Linked DNA regions of Homo sapiens: all the other regions are linked to region 1. The links are contacts of gene promoters, found by promoter capture Hi-C in blood cells and fetal thymus (Javierre and others, 2016). All regions are on one chromosome and are shown on one strand. The core of a region is centred on a gene start or on the middle of the fragment in contact, and the rest is flanking DNA. Distances in the headings are between cores, read along the strand shown.

Region 1 (2,700 bases), core at 39-2,538:
TCCCAACCTCGGGTGATCCGCCCACCTCAGCCTCCCAAAGTGCTGGGATTACAGGCATGAGCCACAGAACCCAGCCGGTTGACTCTTTTAATATGGCCTTTTGAGTGGCCTACTGCAATGCTTTGCAAATAATAAGGACCTCCAAAAATATTTTTTGAAAAAAGTGAAATTGAGTGGATGAATACAAATCTTCATACAATTCTCTTTAACATATTTGAGACAGGCTGATAGGCAACTGCAGCACCTCACTAATAAGAACTCCATTAATCCAGTCCCTTATTTTTCTTTATGTTTAAGTAATAATAAAGTCTCCAAGAGAGCTAGCACAATGATGTAAACAAGTACTTTTGTTTTTATATATTACTTTTTTTTTTTTTTTTTTTTTGAGACAGGGTCTCACTCCGTCACCCAGGCTGGAGTGCAGTGGCGCAATAACAGCTCACTGCAGCTTCCACCTCCTGGGCTCAAGTTATCCTCCAGCCTCAGCCTCCCGAGTAGCTGGAACTACAGGTGCATGCTACCATGCCCAGCTAATTTTTTCTATTTTTTGTAGAAACAGGGGTCTCACTTTGTTGCCCAGGGTGGTCTCAAATTCCTGAGCTCAAGCCATCCTCCCGCCTCAGCATCCCAAAGTGCTGGGATTACAGGCACGAGCCACCACGCCCACTTCTATAAGACTTTGAATGTCCTATATAATCCTGAGATCTTGAATTAGGAAAATTGGATTTGATACAAAAGTTTCATTTTTAGAAGTTCCCTCAAAGTGGAGGGTTTTAAAATTAAAATGTCAAACAGATACCCAGTGAGAGCGTGCACACTGGCATCAGGAACGGATACCTTGGGCTGAGGCGTCGGGGTGGTATTCGGGCTCCTCCTCCGGGGGGCTCTGCAGGAAGTAGAGCTGCTCCGGCAGCATGCTGGCGATCTTCTCCTTCCCTAGGACGTGGGTACTCAGGAGAGGGCTGACGCTCCGTTTCACTTTCTCTCTCCTTTCATGGGCCATAATTTTTTTGGTCCGAGCCTTGATGTTCTCCCAGCACTTCTTCAGCTGTTTGAAATCCCGCAGGGACACGCTGGGCTGAGAGTTGTATTCGTGGGCCAGCGCCTGCCAGGTACGCTGCTTAAGGGCAATAGTTCGCGCATCACTTTTCTTACATTCCAGCACATATTTATACTTTTCTACTAAAGCCAGCAGGATGCTCTTTTCCAATTCTGAGAAGTATTTGGCAGGCTTTATAATTTCGTTGTTTTGCATTTTCCACTGTATTTCTCCTGGCCGCTAGCTATCCTGTAAAAGGAAGTTTGAAGCAATGATTACCAACTCCAGCAAAAACAATGCCTATAAATCACTGAAGCTTAATTCCTGACTTGATTCCCTTGTCTGAAATACAGTACTTTCTTTTCCATTAAGGTTGAATTATGATATTCAGGACTCTGGAGAATATTTAGAAATGTACTAGGAATGGGGTTTTATTTCAAAGTGGATTGTTGTGGCTATACTGTGACTATCTGGTATATAACAGCAAAAAAAGAAAAGTTGAACATTTTTTTTTTGAAACGGAGTCTCGCTCTTGTCACCCAGGCTGGAGTGCAGTGGCACGACCTGAGCTCACTGCAACCTCCACCTCCCGGGTTCAGGCAATTCTCCTGCCTCAGCCTCCTGAGTAGCTGGGATTACAGGTGCCTGTCACCACGCCCGGCTAATTTTTTTTTTGTAGTTTTGGTAGAGACAGGGTTTCACCATGTTGGGCAGGCTGGTCTCGAACTACTGACCTCAAGTGATCTGCCTGCCTCGGCCTCCCAAAGTGCTGGGATTACAGGCGTGAGCCACCACGCCCGGCCTAGACTCTGATTTGTTAATTGATTTTTCTTTAATATTAGGGAACTGATTATTCCCCCAAATCATGTTAGCCAGTTTTAGAACTAAACAGCTTTCCAAAACTTTTGTCACAGCTGAGGACAAAAGAAGCCACCGTGTACTCAAATATAAAATATGATGTGGGAGGCTGAGGCAGGCGGACCACGAGGTCAGGAGTTCCAGACCAGCCTGACCAGCATGGTGAAACCCCATCTCTACTAAAAATACAAAAATTAGCTGGGCGTGGTGGCGTGCGCCTGTAATCCCAGCTAGTCAGGAGGCTGAGGCAGGAGAACTACTTGAACCCGGGAGGTGGAGGTTGCAGTGAGCCAAGATCGTGCCACTGCAATCCAGCCTGGGTGACAGAGTGAGACTCCATCTCAAAAAAAAAAAAAAAAAAAAAAGATGTACAGCCGGGCACAGTGGCTCACACCTGTAATCCCAGCACTTTGGGAGGCTGAGGTAGGTAAATTGCTTGAGCCCAGGAGTTCGAGACTAGCATGGGCAACAAGGCAAAACCCTGTCTCTAAAAAAAAAAAAAAAAAAAAAAAAAAAGGGAAGAAAAAGAAGAAAAAAAAATAGCCAGGTGTGGTGGCATGCACCTGTAATCCCAGCTACTTGGGAGGCTGAGGTAGGAGGACTGCTTGAGCCCAGGAGGTCGAGGCTACAGTGAGCCATGTTTGCACCACCGCACTCCAGCCTGGATGACAAAGGAGACACTGTCTCAAAAAAAAAAAAAAAAAAATTTGACGTTTTCATCACTCTGTGGCATGTACCTGGAGCAATGGCAACCTCAGTTTTTTCATCTTTAAAATGAGGGGTTGGAGTCTGTGATCCTTCAG
Region 2 (2,700 bases), core at 140-2,639, 1.2 Mb after region 1:
TTGCAGCAACATGGATGGAACTGGAAGTCATTATGTTAGGTGAAATAAGCCAGGCATAGACAGACAAATACGTTCTCACTTATATGTGGGCACTAAAAAAGTTGATCTCAGCTGGGTGGGCTGGCTCACACCTGTAATCACAGCACTTTGGGCGGTCGAGGTGGGTGGATCACCTGAGGTCACGAGTTTGAGACCAGCCTGTCCAACATGGTGAAACCCCGTCTCTACTAAAAATACAAAAAAATTAGCCGGGCGTGGTGGCGGGTGCCTATAATCCCAGCTGCTCAGGAGGCTGAGGCAAGAGAATCGCTTGAACCCAGGAGGCGGAGGTTGCAGTGAGCCGAGATCCTGCCATTGCACTCCAGCCTGGGCAACAGAGCGAGACTCGGTCTCAAAAAAAAAAAAAAGAAAAGAAAAGAAAAGAAAATTGATCTCATGGAGATAAAGTAGAAAAATAGTTACCAGAGGCTGGGAGGGGGTCGGAGGGTTGAAGAGAGGTTGGTTAATGGATACAAATATACAGTTAGATTGAAGAAATAAGTTCTAATGTTCAATAGCAGAGTAGGGTGATTATAGTTAACAACAATGTATTGTATATTTCAAATTAGCTAGAAGATAACCTGAAATGTTCCCAACACCAAGAAATGGTAAATACTCAAGATGGTGAATACCCCAAATACCCTGACTTGATCATTACACATTGTATGCATGCAACAAAATGTCATGTTACACTGTCAATATGTACAAATATTGTGTGTCAATAAATTTATTTTTAAACTTACCCTCAAGAGGTCCTTGCAGGCAAATCATGCCTTCTCACATACCTTTCACTCGTTGCTTCTACTTCCACAATAAATCTTACTCATATATATTTAGGACCTACCCTGTGCATAGCACTGAAGATAAAGAAATGAAATTAGCAGTTTAATACTCTTTGACTTACATAATTCTGCATTGTTCAATACTAATATCCTCAGACCTGACTTTCTCTTTGTTCACGTTAAATAATCATATTTTACCCATATTTTAATTTTGAATATTTTTTGGTTTGTCTAATAAATAGAGAAATCTTAGATTTAGTGTTTTTTCTTATAGTATTGGTTTTTAATATTTTATTAAAGATTACTGAGGTTGCTCTTATTACACCTGTGTGTGTATATACACACACACATATATATACACACATATATACTCACACACACATATATATACACATATATACAGACCTGTATATATGTACACACACATATATACACACCTGTATATGTGTACACTGTATGTATCTACACACACAAGTGTAATACATATATACATAATATATATGTGTATATGTGTATATATTCTTTGTACCATCCTTTTTTTTCTTAAAAAGGACACTTGCTTTCCCTTCTGATTTTCTTCATTCTTCTGCTATTCATTGATGTATTTCATTATCCCATTATTTCAATATAAATAATTTCTTTCAAATATTTTAATTTTTTTATTTCAAGTTTGATAATATATTTGCCGCAGTTGTTTGGACTTACTTCAGTACAATCAACTGGTCTCACTGGTTTCTACCTTAGATTCATTGTTCCCTTTCTATGGAACACATCTTTGAATAACATTTTTTCAGAGAGAATATATGCATTTGTATAATTCCCATTGTCTTGCATATAAATAGCTTGATTATATATAAAATTCTTGAGTCACATGTTTTTCTTTCAAAACTTTGTAAATGTTTACCTTCTAGAGCTGCTTTTCCTATAATATGTTCCAAGGAAAATAAGCTGTAAAAAATGCTTCAGGAAAAAGGGCTCCATGGTTATATAACTATAGGAAAACTTCCATTCCTATAGGAAAGGTACATTTTCTATCAGAAATGTACCAGGGAAAGTAGCATACTATAGGCCATGAGCTCTCCTGAGGTAATGAAAATGGATTAATTTTATTTCCAGTGTATCCAAGCTACTTGACCACAGTAATACTGAGAGAAAGCAAATGACCAACAATACAGTAACAGGTAACATCTTTTCAGCATGTACTATGCACTAGGCACTGTTCTAGCACTTAGTCTGTGTACATTATCTGATTTAATCCTCACAATAGTTCTAGATGGGTGGTAGAATTTTTCAATCTGTTTTAACAAATGAGGAAACAGAGGCACAAATAACTTAAGAAAATGAGCTAGAAAATGCTGAAGCTAAATTGAAACCCAAGTAGTTAGCTCCTGAACCATTATTCATATCCTTAAGAGTTGGCAGGGAAGGGCAATAAAGGCAACTTCTATATCTTTCCTAAGCCTGAAAAACACAGCGAAACATCTAATTGTACCAGAAAAGAAAGGGAACTTTCCACCAACCAGAAGTACACTCTGCTAGACTGTCCTAGAATTTGCTGCTGAATTATGGCACAGGCACTTTGGGGGGTAATCTGATGATCATCCATGCAAGTGCTCAACCTCTGCTGTTGGCCAACATCCAGGACCCATCATTGAATACTCATCACCTCATCAATTCATCCTCCTCAACTGACGGGCAAAACAACATCCAAATATTCATTGCACATCTGTGCCGGGCAGATTATACATTAGCAATTCAAATCTGGCCGGTGTGCTGGCTGTTCCTGCAAATGCGTCTGTTTGGGTGAGATGCCTTGTTGTCTGGGATGGATAATAAGGCAACTCGGTCTAATCTTGAAGAACAATCAACCCATCTTGTG
Region 3 (2,700 bases), core at 185-2,684, 1.3 Mb after region 1:
AAGTGAGAAATCATGTATTACAACTTTAAATCAGACAACTTTTGGTATATTCTTAAAATTATATAAAAATAGTTTTAGTGATAAAATGCATTGGTCCCCTGGATTTCATAAAGCAGATCTGGTAGGCTTAGAAATGGCCCAAAAACAACAACAAAAAAAAAAAAACAAAAAAAAAACCCCCACAAAAAAAGTACCTGATCACAGAATTAGAGATTATTATTAAACAAGTAATACAACACAACTATAAAAACAAACCTCTCAAACTCATTCATTTGCTTCAATGAAATTATGGTAACTACAGAAAAAAACTCAACTTTGTAGTCAAAATAGTAACCTCTAAGCATTTTTCCCATGATGTTTTTAAACACATGAAATTGACACTAAATTCCTATGTAATATGTCACTCATTCTAAAATTACTTTGGTTTTAAGATCAAATAGTCTTTCAAATTTATTCTACGTATAAGAGATAAGACATTATCAGAATGCAACTCATTCAGTGTAAATGGCCACTTTCTCTTCCTGACCAAAATACTGTATGGGTTACTCTGACCCTGTATCGGGGAACTGATAGCACTATAAAGTCGAAGTCTTGCCTCAGAGCTATGATAGTTTTTTCTCCCCTCAGAATAAGATCACAGTGATAAAAGGACTTCGAAAACTGTAAAAGCCCTGCAGAGACTTCATAGCATTGGAAGTAAAAACCAGTTATTATAAGCTAGTTTCAACTTAATGTAAGAAGACCATGACAAGTTTGCTTTCAATATTTGACCAAAGACATCTGTAAATGGAGAAAAACCTATACTCAGAATGTTCTTTAGCTACCACCTCTCCCAAGTAACAAGGGTGCACTGAATGCATTACATAAATTACATGTAAGCAGTTGCAATGTACGCACACATAAGGAAACACTGAATTAAAAGCTGCCTTCCTCAAAGTGTAGTGAGACCTCAAAACCACACTAGCTCTAACCTCAGTTACAAAGACAGAGGATCCACCGAACGTTTACTCCTACATACATAACAAATGTGACTTTCTTGCACATCTGTTATCTATTCAAATTATTAACTACCTTCGCCTTCCTAGAAAAAGGCCTATTATTTAATATTAACCATATTCTAATTTTAAATGTAATTCATGTCTTAAAAAATAAGTCTTTGAACAGATAAAGAAAAAAATGGCTTACAGAATACCACATAACTTTTCACAAGCAGCTAGACAGACTTTCCCTTTTAGAAAAATTAGTCTGTATGCTACAAATATTAAAGTACTATAAGCATCTAGAGTGCCACTTGATTTTTTAAAAGTATACTTAGACAACACAATTAAAATGCAAAAGCTTGATGTGAGAATATTCAAACATGACCATGCTAATAATTTACTAATTAATGCCACTTCATTTCTTTAGTGGCTTAAGCACATTTTGGTAGGAGAAAGGCATTTTCAGAATAGAATACCAAATGACATACCACAAAAACCCTTCCAAAAACAAAACAGAAAAAGTTTGGGTTACCCAGATAAATAAGCTTTTTGAATTCAAACACTATAGGTTTTAACATAGAGACTTTCAGCAATTCTACTCATTTCCATTAGAAAGACACAGAAGTGGCACTTACTGGTATAGTACAATCCCATTTTGAAGGCATGTAATGTTCTGAATAAGTGAAAGAACAATAATAGTATACAAAATACAATTGCATGAATTATGTTCCTCACTACTATATGAGGTCATTTTTAGACTCAAGATAAGAGTTTTATAAGTGTTAGTTTTAAGATCCTGAAAAACTATAGAACAGTACATTCAAAGTCTGAATCAAGGAAACTCTAGTGGTTCAGAATCCTCTGAGAATGTACTAACCAGGAGTAAATCACTTTCTTTAGTAATAAGACATGTTTCATTGTAATTCAGCAATCCAACTCCTTTGCCCTTAAAGATGATCTCCAGCACAGCAGAGTTACCTAAAGTTAAGACCAGCAATCATCTTTTTAAAAAACAAGTTTTGTTAATAAAAAATAAAGGTAGACTACACATTTTCTGTCCTGGGAAAGAAGCGTTCATAGTGCACAGAAAGGACCCACATGGCTGTTTCCTGGGTCCAAAGAAATCCTGGGAAGTTTTTAATTGACTTTATTACACTGCTGCAAAAGGAAGCAATATCCTTCTGTTCCCTCTCAGTGAGGTAGAACAATTGACCTCCCAAATTAAAACCCAGGAGCAGATCTGAAGAAAAAAGGAGAGTTCAGGCAAAGCTGTAGAATTACATTTTGATGCCTTCCTGTTGACTGAGTTGCGATAATGTTTTCTTAATCCGCAATGCTGTAAGCCTAGCTGCTCCATTGGCATACCAACATTCTCTCATAATTTTAGCCATTACTCTCAAGGCCTACAAGAAAATATAAAAAAAAAAATTAATGCATGCACCATTTTCCATTGGTCTGGATAAGAATTTTTACGTGTAAATTTTCTTTTTAAATGACATATACACTTGTTATTGTTTAAGCATTATTTGTAATAGCAAATGAGTAGAAATTACATAAATTTCCATCAATAGGGTACTGGTGCCAGTGCTGGAAAGCAGGTGGACAAAGAGTGACTCATTTAGCAAACCTGAAAAGGCCGAATCCTAAACCAGAGCTGGGCAAAGCAAAGAAGAAATCTGACCTCACACTGAAATTTTAAGTTTGTACTTTGAAGTATTCA
Region 4 (2,700 bases), core at 81-2,580, 1.3 Mb after region 1:
CTCCAGGAAGGTGAGCTGAATAGCCCAGAGATTATATCAATTAGCAGACAGACTAGGCTGTCTGTCATAAGAAGTGACCCCAAAATGCAAGGCTTAAACAAGATAGCATTTCAATTCTGTCTCACAAAGCAGGGCAGGTATAATGGTGACGAAGTGTCAGGGACCCAGGATCATTCCATTGTGTGGCTCTGCCATCACTACAGTGTTGCCTTCCTCTGCAGGGAGGAGGATGGCTCACCATCACCTCTGCAATCCAGCCAATAAGAAAGGGGGAGTAAAGAAAGTGAAAGGCACATCCACGCCCTCTAGGAGAGCCACTGAACGTTAAGCACATGGCCTCCACTCACCTCCCACTGGCCAGAACTCAGTGACTTGGACACAACTAGGAAACGCCCTCCTTAGCTGAGCATTCATGAGTATAGCTAAAATTGGAGATTTTGTTTCTAAAGAAAGAAGGGCAGAATAAATATAAGAGGACAACCTGTAGTCTTTATCTGGGATAGGATGAAAGGGACATTTTCACTTTATATATCCTTTTAGTACCTTTAAAAATTTTTTCCTGTACCCTCTTGATAGACCTTTCAGTATCTTCTGAACCATGTGAATTAGGAAAAAAAATTAAGTTTGAAAAATATATTAGTTTGGAAGTCACAAATTGAGCACATGCATCCACCTCTCCACTACACCATGGATCCATGGGGATAAAATATATTTTTTAAAGAGTGAAATCAGATCAGTGCTGGAAAGCAAGACAGGGTGCCAGCAGATGAGAAAGTCTGAGAAAATACTGGAAGCTAGAAAGTAGATGGGATTGGCTGGGTGCGGTGGCTCACACTTGTAATCCCAGCACTTTGGGAAGCCAAGATGGGCGGATCACCTGAGGTCAGGAGTTCAAGACCAGCCTGGCCAACATGGTGAAACCCCATCTCTGCGAAAAATACAAAATTAGGTGTGGTGGCGCATGCCTATAATCCCAGCTACTTGGGAGGCTGAGGCATGAGAATTGCTTGAACCCAGGAGGCGGAGGTTGCAGTGAGCCCAGATGGTGCCACTGCACTCTAGCCTGGGCAACACAGCAAGACTCTGTCTCAAAAAAAAAAAAAAAAAAGAAAAGAAAAGAAAAGAAAAAGTAGATGGGATCAGATCAACTGAGAAAGTACAAAGGTAAACCACAGCCCCAAACACCAGTACCAAGAACTTTCCTTCTCAAGGGAGCCCTAGAGAAACCCCAAACTCAGAAACAAGAGACAGAAAGCAAGAGTAGACCATAGGATAACCATCAGAGTAACTGAGCAAAGAGCTGCATTCACAGTGGCTGGGACATTCGGGGCCCCTCCCTTCTCCCTTCCCCTGCTCAACATATGCTCAACCCGTAAAGGAACAACTAGTGGTAATTTTGCCCTTTGGGTACCTAGGACCCAATCATTATTCTTAAAAAATGTGGGTGATCTATCCAGGAAGGGATCCTAATATAGGTGTCTAAAGTCAAGAGAGAAGCAGAACAAGAACAGGGTTGGAAGTCTATGTAGGCCTCCCCAACAAATATATATGGCAAGTTTGGGTTGAGAGGGTGTATTACTCCATTCTCACGCTGCTAATAAAGACATACCCGAGACTGGGTAACTTATAAAGAAAAGAGATTTAAATGACTCACAGTTTAGCATGGCTGGGGAGGCCTCAGAAAACTTACAATCATGGCGGAAGGGGAAGAAAATACGTCCTTCCTCACCTGGTGGCAAGAGAGAAAATGAGTGCTAAGTGAAGGGGGAAGCCCCTGTAACTATCAGGTCTCATGAGAACTCACTCACTATCACGAGAACAGCACCGAGGGAAACCGCCCCCATGATTCAATTACCTCCAACCAGGTACCTCCCAGGACACGAGGGGATTATGGGATTACAATTCAAGATGAGATCTGGGTGGAGACATAAAGCCAAACCATATCAGAAGGCATGGAGGGGTGGTAGAAAGTCCTCTGTCCAAAAGGAAATTATAGCTAAATACTCCAGTCCGTTATTTAAATACCTCCTTACCTTGGCAGGCGTGGGCATCCCAGGCTGCCTGCTGCAATCTAGAGGTGAGCCTGCTGACAATATGGCCCAGCCACTCAAGGGGACCTGAACTGGCCCTCCCCTTCCAGGGAGACGCCTCTTGTGAAAGCAGGCCACACCAGCTATCCATACAGATTAATCTAATCCTTCATTTAGGAAAGTCGACGGAGAGCCATGGAGCCCCAAATATTTGAGGAAAACCAATAGCACAACCAAGTTGAACAAACATGAGTAAACACAACGTCATCCTGGAAAAAAAAAACAAGATGAAGTAGGTAATGTTAAAGATAAAACCCTAATTAGTATCTCTGGAGAGATGTGAGAGAATGAAATCTCCAAAACAAGAGCCAGCTGCCGTAAAAAAGGAGCCATCGGAGAACAAGAAATAATTTCTAGAAATGTAAAATAAGGGTCAAAATTTTAAAAATTCAGCAAACAGGAATAATAGAATGGCCAAGACCAAAAGCCAGAGCAGTTGTGTGGAAGTCAATGAAATCTCCAGAAATACAGAAAAAAGTCAGCATAGTAAAAACTAAAAGTCTAGAAACAGGAAAGCTCCAGGAGGCTAGCATCCATCAATTCAGTAGGAGTTTCAGAAGGTAAGAAAAAAAATCAGAGAGGTGGTGGGGGATAAAGTCAAAGACATAAT

The links. The method cuts DNA at HindIII sites, captures the fragments that hold promoters and counts their contacts. A CHiCAGO score of 5 or more calls a contact.
Region 2: a fragment that was not itself captured here is called in contact with the fragment with the promoter of MSANTD3-TMEFF1 in region 1 in 1 of 17 cell types (naive CD8 T cells); the score reaches 5.1 in naive CD8 T cells.
Region 3: a contact is called between a fragment that was not itself captured here and the fragment with the promoter of MSANTD3-TMEFF1 in region 1, in 5 of 17 cell types (naive B cells, total B cells, M2 macrophages and 2 more). The highest score is 10.8, in naive B cells.
Region 4: a contact is called between a fragment that was not itself captured here and the fragment with the promoter of MSANTD3-TMEFF1 in region 1, in 9 of 17 cell types (total B cells, fetal thymus, total CD8 T cells and 6 more). The highest score is 10.9, in total B cells.

The regions. Positions count from the first base shown.
Region 1 is chr9:100,440,494-100,443,193 of GRCh38, reverse strand. MSANTD3-TMEFF1 (MSANTD3-TMEFF1 readthrough) reads right to left here and starts at 1,288. Exons shown (of 10, transcript NM_001198812.1): 1 at 838-1,288. The coding sequence starts at 1,255. It overlaps MSANTD3 (Myb/SANT DNA binding domain containing 3), which reads right to left. Exons shown (of 3, transcript NM_080655.3): 2 at 838-1,288. The coding sequence starts at 1,255. The HindIII fragment of the contact is 4,285 bases long and covers 1-1,357 here.
Region 2 is chr9:99,201,631-99,204,330 of GRCh38, reverse strand. No RefSeq gene overlaps it. Among named protein-coding and RNA genes, the nearest start is that of ALG2, 19 kb to the left of the region's middle. RefSeq lists an enhancer at 896-1,065. The HindIII fragment of the contact is 5,389 bases long and covers 1-2,700 here.
Region 3 is chr9:99,148,863-99,151,562 of GRCh38, reverse strand. TGFBR1 (transforming growth factor beta receptor 1) reads right to left here. Exons shown (of 9, transcript NM_004612.4): 9 at 1-2,383. The coding sequence ends at 2,258. Among named protein-coding and RNA genes, the nearest start is that of TGFBR1, 45 kb to the right of the region's middle. The HindIII fragment of the contact is 187 bases long and covers 1,341-1,527 here.
Region 4 is chr9:99,164,909-99,167,608 of GRCh38, reverse strand. No RefSeq gene overlaps it. Among named protein-coding and RNA genes, the nearest start is that of ALG2, 56 kb to the left of the region's middle. RefSeq lists an enhancer at 168-462. The HindIII fragment of the contact is 3,039 bases long and covers 1-2,700 here.